Regions from separate parts of the Homo sapiens genome. Here regions 2 and 3 are each linked to region 1. Evidence: promoter capture Hi-C in human tissues and cell types (Jung and others, 2019). All regions are on one chromosome and are shown on one strand. The core of a region is centred on a gene start or on the middle of the fragment in contact, and the rest is flanking DNA. Distances in the headings are between cores, read along the strand shown. Region 1 holds the start of SIRT4 (sirtuin 4). Region 2 holds the start of SPPL3 (signal peptide peptidase like 3). Region 3 overlaps SPPL3 (signal peptide peptidase like 3).

The links. The method cuts DNA at HindIII sites, captures the fragments that hold promoters and counts their contacts. A contact is called where the count stands out against the background at its distance.
Region 2: the fragment with the promoter of SPPL3 here is called in contact with the fragment with the promoter of SIRT4 in region 1 in 2 of the 25 tissues and cell types used here (hippocampus and psoas muscle).
Region 3: a contact is called between a fragment that was not itself captured here and the fragment with the promoter of SIRT4 in region 1, in 1 of the 25 tissues and cell types used here (hippocampus).

The regions. Positions count from the first base shown.
Region 1 is chr12:120,300,949-120,303,701 of GRCh38, forward strand. SIRT4 (sirtuin 4) reads left to right here and starts at 1,373. Exons shown (of 4, transcript NM_012240.3): 1 at 1,373-1,430; 2 at 2,613-2,753. The coding sequence starts at 2,614. The HindIII fragment of the contact is 7,036 bases long and covers 339-2,753 here.
Region 2 is chr12:120,902,972-120,905,724 of GRCh38, forward strand. SPPL3 (signal peptide peptidase like 3) reads right to left here and starts at 1,387. Exons shown (of 11, transcript NM_139015.5): 1 at 874-1,387. The coding sequence starts at 896. It overlaps XLOC_009911 (a long non-coding RNA gene), which reads left to right and starts at 1,724. Exons shown (of 2, transcript NR_131215.1): 1 at 1,724-1,801. RefSeq lists silencers at 737-786, 927-1,146, 1,227-1,586. The HindIII fragment of the contact is 15,749 bases long and covers 1-2,753 here.
Region 3 is chr12:120,846,842-120,849,594 of GRCh38, forward strand. All of the region lies in intron 1 of SPPL3 (signal peptide peptidase like 3), which reads right to left. Among named protein-coding and RNA genes, the nearest start is that of SPPL3, 56 kb to the right of the region's middle. The HindIII fragment of the contact is 3,937 bases long and covers 1-2,753 here.

The DNA of each region.
Region 1 (2,753 bases), core at 123-2,622:
TGATTAACTTAATAAAAAAAATATGATAAATAAAATTGGAGAAGCCAAGCAGGTTAAGTACATTAGTCCAGGTATAATATATTTGGCTTCATATTAACTGTAAAAACATCACTTTTGGCTGGGCACAGTGGCTTACGCCTGTAATCCCAGTACTTTGGGAGGCTAGGGTGGGCAGATCACGAGGTCAGGAGATCAAGACCATCCTGGCTAACATGGTGAAACCTTGTCTCTACTAAAAATAAAAAAATTAACCGGGCGTAGTGGCATGCGCCCATAATCCCTGCTACTCAGGAGGCTGAGGCAGGAGAATTGCTTGAACCCGGGAGGCGGAGGTTGCAGTGAGCCGAAATGGCACCATTGCACTCCAGCCTGGGCAACAGAGCGAGACTCCGTCTCAAAAACAAACAAACAAACAACAACAACAACAACAACAAACTATCACTTTTTCAGATATGTATAAACACATTTCTTCACAAGTTCAAGGTATTTTACCAATAGCAAATAACTTGATACTGTCGTTGTGAATGAAAAGGATCACAAACTCTGATGTTTAGAATGAGTCAAATCTAGGCCGGGAACAGTGGCTCAGGCCTGTAATCCCAGCATTTTGGGGGGCCGAGGTTGGCGGATCACCTGAGGTCGGGAGTTCGAGACCAGCCTGGCCAACATGGTGAAACTCTGTCTCTACTAAAAATACAAAAACTTTAAAAAAAAGTCAAATCTAGATCCATGATTAATGACGTGCTCATTTCACATTGCATGTTTGTATCAAAACATCTCATGTGGGTAAAGCATAGACAGGCACAGAGAAAAGAAAAAAAGACAAAAAATAAGAGAAAAGATGGCCGGGCGCAGTGGCTCACGCCTATAATCCCAGCACTTTGGGAGGTCAAGGCGTGCGGATCACCTGAGGTTAGGAGTTCAAGACGAGCCTGGCCAACATGGCGAAACCCCCGTCTCTACTAAAAATACAAAAATAATCCCAGCTACTCGGGAGGCTGAGGCAGGAGAATCGGTTGAACCCGGGAGAGGGAGGTTGCAGTGAGCCGAGATCGTGCCACTGCACTCCAGACTGGAGTTTTTTCAAAAAAAAAAAACAACAACTCCGTCTTAAAAAAAAAAAAGAAAAAAGAAAAAAAATCTTATGTACACTATAAATATATACACCTACTAAGTGCCCACAGAAATTGAAAACAAAGAAAAAAATCCATGATTAAAAGCTTTTATATTAACGGGGGAACCTCTGACCAGAAAGAGCCGACAGGGGGCGTTCCTGGATGATCTGGGGCTGTCAATTGCGAGACGCGGAGGATTGTGGGACTTGTGGTTTTTCTCGCATCATTTAAGCTTTCTGGACTACATGTCCCAAAATGCAAATGCAATCAGACGGTCCCACTGTGGGGTGTGAAGTGTCCGTAGAGCTGTGAGAGGTAAGTGTGTTCTGTGTGTGCTGCGGATTTCTAGAAGTTGTGGATTTCTTGTGAGGGATTCTATTTCTCCTCTTTGCCCTCGGTGGGACCTGGAAGAGAGTAGTTGTTCCACTGATGCACGTTTTCAGCGGGGGTTTCCCCTGACCCTTTGGTCTCGGGAAACCGGACTGTGTGTTTGTTCAGCTGTTCACGTTTTGCTGTGGAATGTCAAGGAGAAAGCGGGGTCCTGATCTCAGATCTGGAAAGCCAAACATAAAATAATGTTTACATACGGGGTGCATGTCACTAGAGGATTTATGCATTGCATTGTGTCAAATAATATGTCAAAGTTTTTTCTTTTTCTTTTTTTTTTTTTTTTTGATACGGAGTCTTGCTTCTTCGCCCAGGCTGGAGTGCAACGGCGCGATCTCGGCTCACTGCAACCTCCGCCTCCCGGGTTCAAGCAATTCTCCTGCCTCAGCCTCCCTAGTAGCTGGGATTACGGGCACGTGCCACAATGCCCGGCTAATTTTTTTTGTATTTTTAGTAGAGTCGGGGTTTCACCATGTTGGCCAGGCATGTCTCGAACTCCTGATCTCAAGTGATCTGCCTGCGTCGGCCTCCCAAAGTGCTGGGATTTCAGACGTGAGCCACCGCACCCGGCCCTCTATTGTTACAGCTAGAAAAGCTGACGGGCAGGGGTCTTGTCTCTCTGATGTGTCCAAGTAGCAGAGCTTGCAGTGGAGGGTAAACTAAAATAAGGGGGAAATGAAAAAATAAAAGGAATGCGTGTGTGTGCTTAATTACATGAACAAAATCAAACAAAACCTGACTCATTAGGGCCAGACTCAGAGGCTCACACCTGTAATTCCAGCACGTTGGGAGGCCGAGGCGGGCAGATCACTAGAGCTCAGGAGTTCGAGACTAGCCTGGCCAACATGGTGAAACCCTGCCTCTACTAAAAATACAATAATTAGCCGGGCATGGTGGCCATGTAGTCCCAGCTATTCTGGAGGCTGAGGCAGGAGAATCACTTGAACCCGGGAGGCGGCGGTTACAGTGAGCCAAGATCATGCCACTGTACTCTAGCCTGGGCAACAGAGGGAGACTCTGTCTCAAAAAACAAAACGAAAACAAACAAACAAAAAATGAGAAAAAAAAAAAACCACCCCAGTTTCTCACATGAGGCTTCTTTTTCTCTAGAATGAAGATGAGCTTTGCGTTGACTTTCAGGTCAGCAAAAGGCCGTTGGATCGCAAACCCCAGCCAGCCGTGCTCGAAAGCCTCCATTGGGTTATTTGTGCCAGCAAGTCCTCCTCTGGACCCTGAGAAGGTCAAAGAGTT
Region 2 (2,753 bases), core at 137-2,636, 600 kb after region 1:
CCGGATATGTAGGTTGTCACCCCATAAACTACACAGTAGCTTCTCGCTTCTCGGCCCTTAACGAGCTACTTACTAACTTTAAAAGCCCCACAGAAATGAACTTAACTTGCAGGTCCTCCACCTCCACACTTGGCCCTGGGCGCCATTCCTCTGAAAATAATAGTACCAACCCTTACAAAGACTCTGCCCATGCCCCACTGTCACCAACGAATTCCTTTTCCAGAAGGAAAAGGAAACAGGTTCTTCAGGCTCCTCTTCCAACCTCTTCACCAGTGACTCCCCTCCAAGGTTCGTGGACTCTACCCCCGCAGTTTTCCTCCCCTCACTCCCGGGCCTCTGCCCACCTCACCAACTCTCCCTGCGCTCCCTGTCCCAGAGCCAAGCGGCGGCCGCTCCACTCTCCCAACTTAGAAGTTCTGCCTCTATCACCTGTTCTCACTAGAGCTTCCTCTCAGCCCAGCGGCCCACCTTTGCCCTGGCCTGCCTCTCTCCACCCCTTCGAGTCCTCCTGCCCAGGAAACACCCCCACGAGTCAGTTCCGGGGTGCCTGTCGGATTCAACTTCCCATCCGTGGGATTCCCACCCCCGGGGTCATGCTCCCCTTCTCCATCACCTGCTCCGCCCATAGCCAGATGACATCCGCCGCTGCCTCCTCCTCCATTCCCCTTCTCGGACGCCAGGTCCCCGGCCACTCACCGCCCTCCGTGCGCGCCAGCCGCCCCCTCCGGTGGGGAAGAGGGGGGCGTGCACCCCAACCCGCGCCCCCCCCCCACGACACGCACCTGTTCTTCCTCCTCTTCCCCTCGGCGGGCCGCGCCGGCGCCCCGACCCCCACCCTTGCCGCCTCCCGGCCTCCCGGAGCCCCGCACTCACCACGAGTAGGTCTGCTCCGCCATGGCGCTGCCTCTCGTGGGCTCCGCTGCAGGCTGTGGCCGGGCCCGGCGGCGGCGGGCTCGCTCGGGCCGTAGCTGAAGGCGCGGCCGGGGTCCGGTGCTTGCTTGCTTGCTCGCTCGCTGGCTCGCTGGCTGCACGGCGGGCCGGGAAGGCGGCTGGCGGGGAGAGGCCGGGCTCCGAAGCGGCCCCGCTCCCTGGGCCCCGGGGCGGGGCGGGCTCCGCTCTCGGCCTCCCTCACCCGCGGCGGCGGCGGCGGCTCCGCTGCAGCTCCAAACCCAACATGGCGGCGGCGGCGGCGCGGAGAACAAGGGGGCCCTGGGGCGGGCGAACGGCAAGACGGGCCCGCGCTCACTGCGCGCGGGGCCGCGGGAGCGCCGCGCTCGGGCGGCGGCGGCGGCGGCCGGGGGACATGGCCGGCGGGCGGAGGCGGCGGCGACTGAGGGGGGCGCTAGGCGATGAGGCGAGGCCACTCGATCACACCCGCCGAGGGGAGGAGGGGCGGGGGCGGGGGCGAGCCTTGGCCCCGCGCGGGTCACGTGCCCAAAACACGCTCACGTGATGCGCGCCCCGCCCCTCGAGCCGGGCCCATGCGCAGAGACGTCGGCTCCTGGGTTCTAGGCGGCTGCTGCTCGCACAGCCAGAGCAGTTGGGCCGCCTCCCGCTGCCTGGTGCCGCCCCCCTCCCCACGCGGAGATGTCGCCTCGGGTACCCTCTTCCGCCCCTCTCCGAGGGGCTGCTGCACCAGCCAATCGGGAACCCCGATGCGCGTCTGTTGGCTGCCACTCAGCTGTCAACCGTCAGTCAACAGTCTGCTGGCCACGGGCCCCCCAACTGTCAGTCAACCTGTCAGTCAACAGGCAGAGGGCTGCATTCCTTCGTTCGTATGTTCCTTGGTTCATTCATTCAGGTAGCAAATATTCCAGGCAGCCAACCTTTATTGCGCCCAGGCCCGGCACCAAGTCGAATACCCCACGCTTGCCTTCACAGAATCAATCAACAGATATTTGTTGGGTGCCAACCATGTGTCAACTCACTCTGCCTTCCTAGAGCTTACATTCTAAAGGAAGAGACATAGTCCAAGCCCACAAATAAGATAATTTCAGATGCTGCTAAGTTTTACAAAAACACATTTTGTAACACAAGGTGAGGGGACAGAGAGTGAGCAGAGGTGTGGGTTACTTTAGATAGGGTGGTCAAGGAAGGCCTCGCTTAGGAGGTGACATTTGAGCTGATATTGAATGATGACAGAGAGCTGGCCTTGCAAAGATCCACAGGAAAAGAGTTCCTGGCAGAGGGAACAGCAAGGGCAGAAGGCTCAGGAAACCGTCCATTTGGAGGTCTGGAAACCGGCACAGAAATAAACACGGTAGAGCTAGACCAGAGACCAACAAAGTGAATCTGGAGCTTAGATGGAGAGAGAAGAGAGAGATTAATTGAGGCCCCAGGTACTGCGGAATGCTTCCCCAGGAGTGGATGAGGCCGTCTGAAAGGGTGAGAGGCTTATCAAAGAAAAGTCATTCTTTTGGCCGGGCGCGGTGGCTCACGCCTGTAGTCCCAGCACTTTGGGAGGCCGAGGTGGGTGGATCATGAGGTCAGGAGATCGGGACCATCCTGGTTAACACGGTGAAACCCTGTCTCTACTAAAAATACAAAAAATTAGCCGGGCGTGGTGGTGGACGCCTGTAATCCCAGCTACTCAGGAGGTTGAGGCAGGAGAATGGCGTGAACCCCGGAGGCAGAGCTTGCAGTGAGCCGAGATTGCGCCACTGCACTCCAGCCTGGGCAACAGCGAGACTCTGTCTCAAAAAAAAAAAAAGAAAAAGAAAAAGAAAAAGAAAAAAAAAAAAGAAAAGGCATTC
Region 3 (2,753 bases), core at 129-2,628, 550 kb after region 1:
GCCAGATAGAGGGCAGGAAGAAAACACCCAACAGAGTTCATGTGGGTGGGAGTGTGGAGGTTTCTTTCAGGCCCTCATCTGGGTGTTTATATTGTGACAGCAAACTCTGTGGTTAAGCTTGTGCAGTAATTAAGTAGTATGTTTATTATAACTAAATCTCAATAGACTTTTCTAAGATTTCCCCTCAGGCTCAGGGAGAAGTGAAATAGGATTCTGACTTATAAACCCAGATAAATGAAGTTTTATGTTACTGAATACCTGCACCAATAGCCTCAAACTTCATTATGCATAAAACCAAACGTAAGGAAAAGAGAAAAAATAAATTCAAACAAAATAAACCAGAAGAAAGGGAGATGTAACATCAATTTCAACACTAATTAGAGAGGGAAAAAGAAGAATTTAGCGTCTCTTTGGGGAAGGTGGAAACATGAATTCAGTTTATTTTTATTTATTTATTTATTTATTTTTTAAGACAGGGTCTCACTCTGTCACCCAGGCTGGAGTGCAGTGGTGTGATCTTGGCTTACTGCAACCTCTGCCTCCTGGGTTCAAGCAATTCTCCAGCCTCAGCCTCCCAAGTAGCTGGGACCACAGGTGTGTGCCACCACACCTGGCTAATTTTTGTATCCTTTGTAGAGACAAGGTTTCAACATGTTGCCCAGGCTGGTCTAGAACTCCTGAGCTCAAAGCAATCTGCCTGCCTTGGCCTCCCGAGGTGCTGGGATTACAGGCGTGAGTCACCAAGTCTGGCCTTATTTTTTATTTTTTTAAGTAGAGGCAGGTCTCACTCTCTTGCCCAGGACGGTTTGAAACTCCTGAGCTCAAGTGACCCTCCCACCTTGGCTTCCGAAAGTGCTAGGATTACAGGTGTGAGCCACCACACCTGGCCTTGGTTTAAAGTAACCACTGAACTGCCTTTGAATCTAGTAAAAAGGGAGCTAATATTTATAATTAATATTCCATAGCAGAGAACTGTCTTTCTGTTCTCCTGTACCTGAGTACCATAATCACCCTGGGTGTGTCCCCTGGCTTTCAAAATGCCACATTGAATCTGAACCGTGCTCATTTTAACTACCGAGAGAAAGGAGATAATCACAAGTTTGGGGAGAGAGTGATTTTTATAAGTGGCTGAATGTCTGGTGACAGAAAAAGGGAAGTAAGGCATTATGTAAAACTTAAAACAAAATCTAGTCTTGTTCATCACACTGGTGTGAGATAAGGTGGTGGTGGTGCATGTGCACAAGTAAGAGCAGATTCTGACCTGCACTACTTACCAGCTTCTGATGAACTCAGCAGCCGAATCTATTAAAGGGAGAGGAAATTCACTAGCACTGCCCTGACAGAATCTCAAGGTTGCTCTATAAGCAACTAAATACAACTATAAGCAAAGTTGTATTTGCAGTGTTGTTCTCCAACAGCCACTTTCTAATGTACAGGATCAGGATATATCTCAAGGAGTCAGAAGAAAGGCCAAACCACAGCCATAAGATCGCACTGAGGACTACAGGGACACCATGGGTCTAGAGTTATTCTCACAATCACAGAATTAAGACCTCAAGTTAAAGTGCTTGAACATGGCAGGGAGCCCAAGAAGGGTGGAATACCAAAACTGCTATTTCTTGTCCAATCTAATGACTGAGAATAGTGGTATCATTAACAGAATGGCAAGGATTTACTTTAACTTACTTGCCCCCGCCACACCCCAGAAAGTGCTAGTCTATCTAACAAGTATTATTTTAGAATTGCTGTATTATTTTAGTCATCTGCATATTTTCGATGGACTTATAAATTAATCTATATATTTAACATAAGCCAAATTGACAATTTTCATAACTACTACTGATTGTTCCATTTCTCAAAAATCACAATTAAATCCAAAAGGTTACAAAAGGAAAGGTTAGATTTCTCACAGATGCTTTAAATTACTGCTCTTTTACCATAGCTCATTATACCTAATGTGTAAGAAAATAGTAAGGACAAAAATGCCTTAAAAATTTGTGCATAAATTACTTTTTATCACTTTAGTGTAATAACACTAATGATCAATGAGCAAGCTACAGGTGATTTGTGTAACACTCAATTTTGGTTTTTTTTTTGGCCATCTTTCAAGGCCCAGGATGTAATACAAACTTGATTACTATGTAAATATCCATCTCTACAAAAAATTTAAAAATTAGCTGGGCATGGTGGCACATGTCTATATTCTTAGACATGCTCATGGAGGCTGAGATGGGAGGATTGCGTGAGCCCAGGAATTTAAGGCTGCAGTGAGCTATAATCAACGCCCCTGCATTCCAGCCTGAGCAACAGAGATCCTCCCTCTAAAACCAGAGGAAGAAAACAAAAAACAAAAGAAAACAATAATAATAAAAAGTAAAACTAAACCTAAACTTTACCTGATACTCTCTTTCCCTCTAACAAAGTTATTAGAGATGGGCTCAACTCTAACAAGCATCTAAATCAGTACTCTAAAGGTAAAAAATAATTTCAGGTAATCAATACCAACTTCTACAAAGTTGTAGCCAACTGGCAACACAATTTCTGAAGACATTCTATTGTTTAAGTAGATACGAATAGATTAATGAGCCACCACAGAGGCAAGTGAAACAGGATGATCTATCTATACTAGCAATGGCCTAAGGTTACCAAGATATAGCAAATACAGGTAAAATGTAGACATGTTGAGAAGATTTCCTTTGAATTTTACTTAGAAAATCCAAACAGCTCTAAAAAACAGATCAATATATACTCTG